Linked DNA regions of Homo sapiens: region 1 is linked to region 2. The links are contacts of gene promoters, found by promoter capture Hi-C in human tissues and cell types (Jung and others, 2019). All regions are on one chromosome and are shown on one strand. Each heading gives the region's core, a stretch centred on a gene start or on the middle of the fragment in contact. The rest is flanking DNA. Distances are from core to core; before and after follow the strand shown. Region 1 overlaps ZSCAN5A-AS1 (ZSCAN5A antisense RNA 1). Region 2 holds the start of NLRP8 (NLR family pyrin domain containing 8).

Evidence for each region. Contacts are between HindIII fragments. The study calls those that stand out against the background at their distance.
Region 1: a fragment that was not itself captured here is called in contact with the fragment with the promoter of NLRP8 in region 2 in 2 of the 25 tissues and cell types used here (spleen and thymus).

What each region holds. Positions count from the first base shown.
Region 1 is chr19:56,338,542-56,341,241 of GRCh38, reverse strand. ZSCAN5A-AS1 (ZSCAN5A antisense RNA 1) reads right to left here. Exons shown (of 3, transcript NR_186830.1): 3 at 40-456. It also overlaps a transcript of ZSCAN5A not described here and the pseudogene VN2R18P. Among named protein-coding and RNA genes, the nearest start is that of ZSCAN5A, 25 kb to the right of the region's middle. The HindIII fragment of the contact is 4,392 bases long and covers 1-2,700 here.
Region 2 is chr19:55,946,545-55,949,244 of GRCh38, reverse strand. It overlaps NLRP8 (NLR family pyrin domain containing 8), which reads right to left and starts at 1,413. Exons shown (of 10, transcript NM_001433706.1): 1 at 976-1,413. The coding sequence starts at 1,342. The HindIII fragment of the contact is 14,722 bases long and covers 1-2,700 here.

The DNA of each region.
Region 1 (2,700 bases), core at 74-2,573, 390 kb before region 2:
AGGCTTTGTTAGTTCCTTTTCATTCTTTTTTCTCTAATCTTTTCTTCATGCCTTATTTTAGTAAGTTGATCTTCAATCTCTGATATCGTTTCTTTTGCGTGATCAATTTGGCTATTGATACTTGTGTATGACAAATGATGGCAACTCCTCTCCAGCAAGGGCACAAAACTGGACGGAGAATGAGATTGATGAATTGACAGAAGTAGGCAGATTTGCCCTGAGGGGTTCCCAGCTTGAAGGGATCCAAGATATTTCCCTTTCACAAGACAATCCCATTCTGTCAATGAATTAATCTGTTGGAGTTTGCTGGAGGTCCACACCAGACCCTGTTCACAAGAAGATCTTTTCACTTCCCTCTTCTCCTGCAAGGGAAGACTTTAAGAGACCTGAATTGACATGGCAAGGTGGTCTCATTTTCAACTCTCAAGCACAAAGTCTTTCTTCTCTTTGGTTTGCCTGCCAAAATGAAAATTCGAGGTTACCAAAAGCTTCAGTTCCAGTATATCTCCTTCTTATTCCACAGAAATTGTAGTTCATGGATATGAAGGCTCTAACAGCTAAGTATAATTTTGCCATCATGAAAAAGCCAATGAGAAGCCAATAAAAACAGGATTTCAGAAACACATAAGTACCTCCATTTCCAACTATGTGTCAAAAGCTTTCCTGATTAAGCTTGTTTGTTTGAGATTTCTCTAGCTGTAGCCAAAAATATCCTAAATTATTATCATTAGTATTCCTTTCATGACATTGATGTGACCTGCTACCCTGACTCATACTAAGAGAAGAATCAAGAGAATTGTGAAAAGGAAAAGTGGTTTTGAACTTCGTTCTCCTGGAGATCCGACAATCTAACCTTAGAACTCTGCTTCCTCCAGTTTTCTCATTCCGTCTGCAGTGAGAGCTGCCCTGCTGGCTCCACTGCTACTTTGAATGCAGGCACTGCCTTGAGAGACATTTTGCTGACAGAAAGATGATAGGGGGGCTTTCAAATGATTCCTTCTGAAAGTTGACATTCAACTCATGTTTACTCTTTGGGTAACTTTATCCTGCAAATTCTGAGAGAACACCATCCTTCTAGGTCCAGTTGGCCACAGAACAGGTTGCATGAGTCTCCATAGCAAAATGGAAATCCAAATGGAATCCAATTTCCATTTGGATTTCCATTTTGCACAAAGTGAGTTTTCTCTGTCCATTTTGGGTTTGGATGGAGGAGGGGAAAAATGCTCAGACTTTCCCCAAGACAGTAGTATCAGACAATCCCCAGGAACAGATTGGAAGGGTCAGTGTGGGCAGGTGTTGAGTTCTCTAAGTCATCTAGAGCAAGGGCAGGCAAATCTTGGCCCACAGGCTAAATATGGCTGCAATTCCTCCTTTACATATTGCTAAATACGGCTACAACCGCTCCTTCACATATTGCTAAATGCGGCTACAACCGCTCCTTCACATATTGCTAAATGCGGCTACAACCGCTCCTTCACATATTGCTAAATGCGGCTACAGCCGCTCCTTCACATATTGCTAAATGCGGCTACAGCCGCTCCTTCACATATTGCTAAATGCGGCTACAGCCGCTCCTTCACATATTGCTAAATGCGGCTACAGCCGCTCCTTCACATATTGCTAAATGCGGCTACAGCCGCTCCTTCACATATTGCTAAATGCGGCTACAGCCGCTCCTTCACATATTGCTAAATGCGGCTACAGCCGCTCCTTCACATATTGCTAAATGCGGCTACAGCCGCTCCTTCACATATTGCTAAATGCGGCTACAGCCGCTCCTTCACATATTGCTAAATGCGGCTACAGCCGCTCCTTCACATATTGCTAAATGCGGCTACAGCCGCTCCTTCACATATTGCTAAATGCGGCTACAGCCGCTCCTTCACATATTGCTAAATGCGGCTACAGCCGCTCCTTCACATATTGCTAAATGCGGCTACAGCCGCTCCTTCGCATATTGCTAAATATGGCTACAGCTGCTCCTTTGCATATTGCTAAATACGGCTACAACTGCTCCTTTGCATATTGCTTACAGTGGCTTTCAATCTGCAAGAGAAGACTTGAATAGTTGCCACAGACACCTTCTGGTTTGCAAACTGTAAATATTTATTACCCTTTACAGAAAAGGTTTGCTGTCATATGTCTCACAAATCCAGTGCAGTCTGTAATTAGTTACAATGAAAAGATGACAATGCCCAGGTCACATTGTTCCTAAGGCCTGTTCTGTATTTCTCCCCATTTAGAATGAATTCCCTGCAGGCATTTTTGCACTCCAAATACATTACGTCACTGTCAAGCTTTCTCCTTCCATATATGCTTTGAACCCTGGGAACAGGCCACCTTTTCAGTTCAGTTCACAGTGGCTGTGTCTTCTGCTTCAGCCAAAACTTTCACTGTGGTCATGGCCTTCCAAGCTACAAGGCCAGCTAGCAGGATGGGAAAGCTACAAGGCCAGCCAGGACCCAAGGTCCTGTTGGGTACCCTAAAATCTCATTCTGTTGTCACCTTTGCCCCCTCATCCAAGTGACCATCTCTGGAATCTAGTTGGAAACATCTCCTTCCTCCCTAGACAAAGACCCATAGTCCTGGTATAATCATCATCCAGTGTAATGGGGGCTCTATCACTGTTTTCTACTGTGTCTTGAGCTATTTGGGCTTCTTGGTTCTGGGGACCTTTGCTGTAGTCTTCCTGGAAAGTAA
Region 2 (2,700 bases), core at 164-2,663:
AAAAATACATACCGATCTATGATAAAAGTTTAAATTATAAATTAGGTACAGTAAGAGATTAACAATAATAATGAAATAGAACAATTATAATACTATACTATCATAAACGGTATGTAAATGTGGTCTCTCTCTGTCTCAGAATATCTCAGTGTACTGTACTCATCTATTTTTGGCCATGATCAACCCAAACTTCAGAAAGCAAAACCTTGGATAAGGGGATGACTGTAGTCCAGCTCTGCTTTATTCATATTGAAGATGAGGTTTTGGATTACAATATCCTCCAGTGGGATTCACCCTTTGTTGCTGCGAAATGGCCTTTTAAAGTGTTTAACCTTCTTGCTTTAAATATAGCACTCCTGACATCACCATAGCTATACCAGCTGTCTTCTGCTGTTTCCATAGCATATGCTTTTCCACTATTTTACTTCCTACTTCTCTATGACTTCATTTAACGTTCACCTCATATAAGCAGTATTCAGTTAAGTTTTTAAAAAATAGGCCCATATGGGCTGGGCACAGTGGCTCACACCTGCAATCCCAGCACTTTGGGGGGCCAAGGCAGGCGGATTACCTGAGGTCAGTAGTTCGAGACCAGCCTGGCCAACATGGTGAAACCCCGTCTCTACTAAAAATAAAAAAAAATTACCCAGGCATGGTGGTGGGTGCCTGTAATCCCAGCTACTCAGGAGGCTGAGGCAGGAGAATCACCTGTACCTGGGAGGCGGGGTTTGCAGTGAGCCGAGATTGTGCCATTGCACTTCAGCCTGGGCAAGAAGAGCGAAACCCCATCTCAGAAAAATAAAATTAAAAAAATGCCCGTATGACAGTCTTTGCCTTTGGGTTAGATCCATTATCTTCCTCCACTGTTTGCTTTCTTGCTCAGAAGGCCAATAAGTGATAGGGGTGGTGACTAGAGTAGTTTAGCTGCCCAGCAGCCAAGCCCACCCCCACTTTATCCACCAGATCAACACTCACCATTTATCTCTCTGCGGACTACAACACACATTTTATCACAGTTCATAATGGCAAAGATGTTCGAAGTCACATCCCAAGCGCGTCGTCCAGGGAAACGCTCTATCAAGAGATGAACCACCTCTGCCCAGCTGGCTGTCTCGACCTGGTCCCAGGTGATGGGCATGGTGCCAGTACTGAGCTCAGTCAGTAAGAGCTGCTTGAACCGTTGTAGCTCCTCATGGCTCACGTTTCTCATGTACAGCATGACCCCATTTTCACATGGGGAGCCGGGGTAGCAAGAGAATGTCCAGGGCGGAATATGAGAACTGTGAGTGGAGGAGGATGAAAAGGGAATGGGGGTGTCAGAGGGTGGATTCACGTCACTCATCTTTAGTCAAGGCAGAGAACACCTCAGTGTCCACGATAAAGACAACCGATTGGAAGAGAGAAACACGAGACCTGCAGAGACATAAAACAATAAAACAAGAAGATGAAAACACTACCCAAGAAAACAGATTCGTGTAATGCTTACTTGGCAGGTATTCTGCGTGCCGGGTACTCCCTTTACCTCCTTTCCTCAAAGATTCTCTGCCCTATGGAAAAACTGAAGATGCATGGAATGTTTGGGATTAGTCCATTAGACTAATGGATTGTTTGTAGTTTCTATTCTCCATGACTTCTTTTGGGGAAGAGGCAAGCAAAATATCAAAGCCTTCACAAAAGGTTTAGCGAAAAGAAAAATTAGAAGCAGGTAAAATAATTCAGTGAAGCTAAAATCTAGAAAATATATGGTTGGTTAGAAGGCTCCATTAGATTAAAAGTGATCTCAAATTCAACAAAGTTTTTATTCTTAAAAAAATGGATCATGTATTAGAGAGATGCAAATCAAAACCACAACGAGATGTCATCTCACACCAGTCAGAATGGTGATTATTAAAAAGTCAAGCAATAACAGATGCTGTATTCTTAAAAAATGGATCATGTATTAGAGAGATGCAAATCAAAACCACAACGAGATGTCATCTCACACCAGTCAGAATGGTGATTATTAAAAAGTCAAGCAATAACAGATGCTGGTGAAGTCGCAGAGAAAAAGGAACACTTATACTCTGTGTGTGGGAGTGTAAATTAGTTCAACTACTCTGGATGACAGTGGGGCAACTCCTCAAAGACCTAAAAAGAGAACTACCATTCAACTCAGCAATCCCATTACTGGATATATATCCAAAGGAATATAAATCATTCTATTATAAAGACACATTCCTGTGTATGTTCATTGCAGCACTACTCACAATAGCAAAGTCATGGAATCAACCTAAATGCCCATCAGTGATAGACCGGATAAAAAAATGTGGTACATAAACACCATGGAATACTATGCAGCCATAAAAAAGAATGAGATCATGACCTTTGCAGGAACATAGATGGAGCCAGAGACCATTATTCCTTAGCAAACTAACACAGGAACAGGAAACCAAATACCACATGTGCTCATTTATAAGTGGTAGCTAAACGATGAGAACACATGGACACATAGAGGGAACACCACACACTGGAGTCTGCTAGAGGCTGGAGGGTGGGAGGAGGGAGAAGATCAGGAAAAATAACTAATGGGTACTGGGATTAATACCTGGGTGATGAGATAACCTGTACAACAAACCCACCCCCATAACACGTTTGCCTATATAACAAACCTGCACATGTACCCCTGTATCTAAAAGAAATGTAAAAAAGAAATAAAATAAA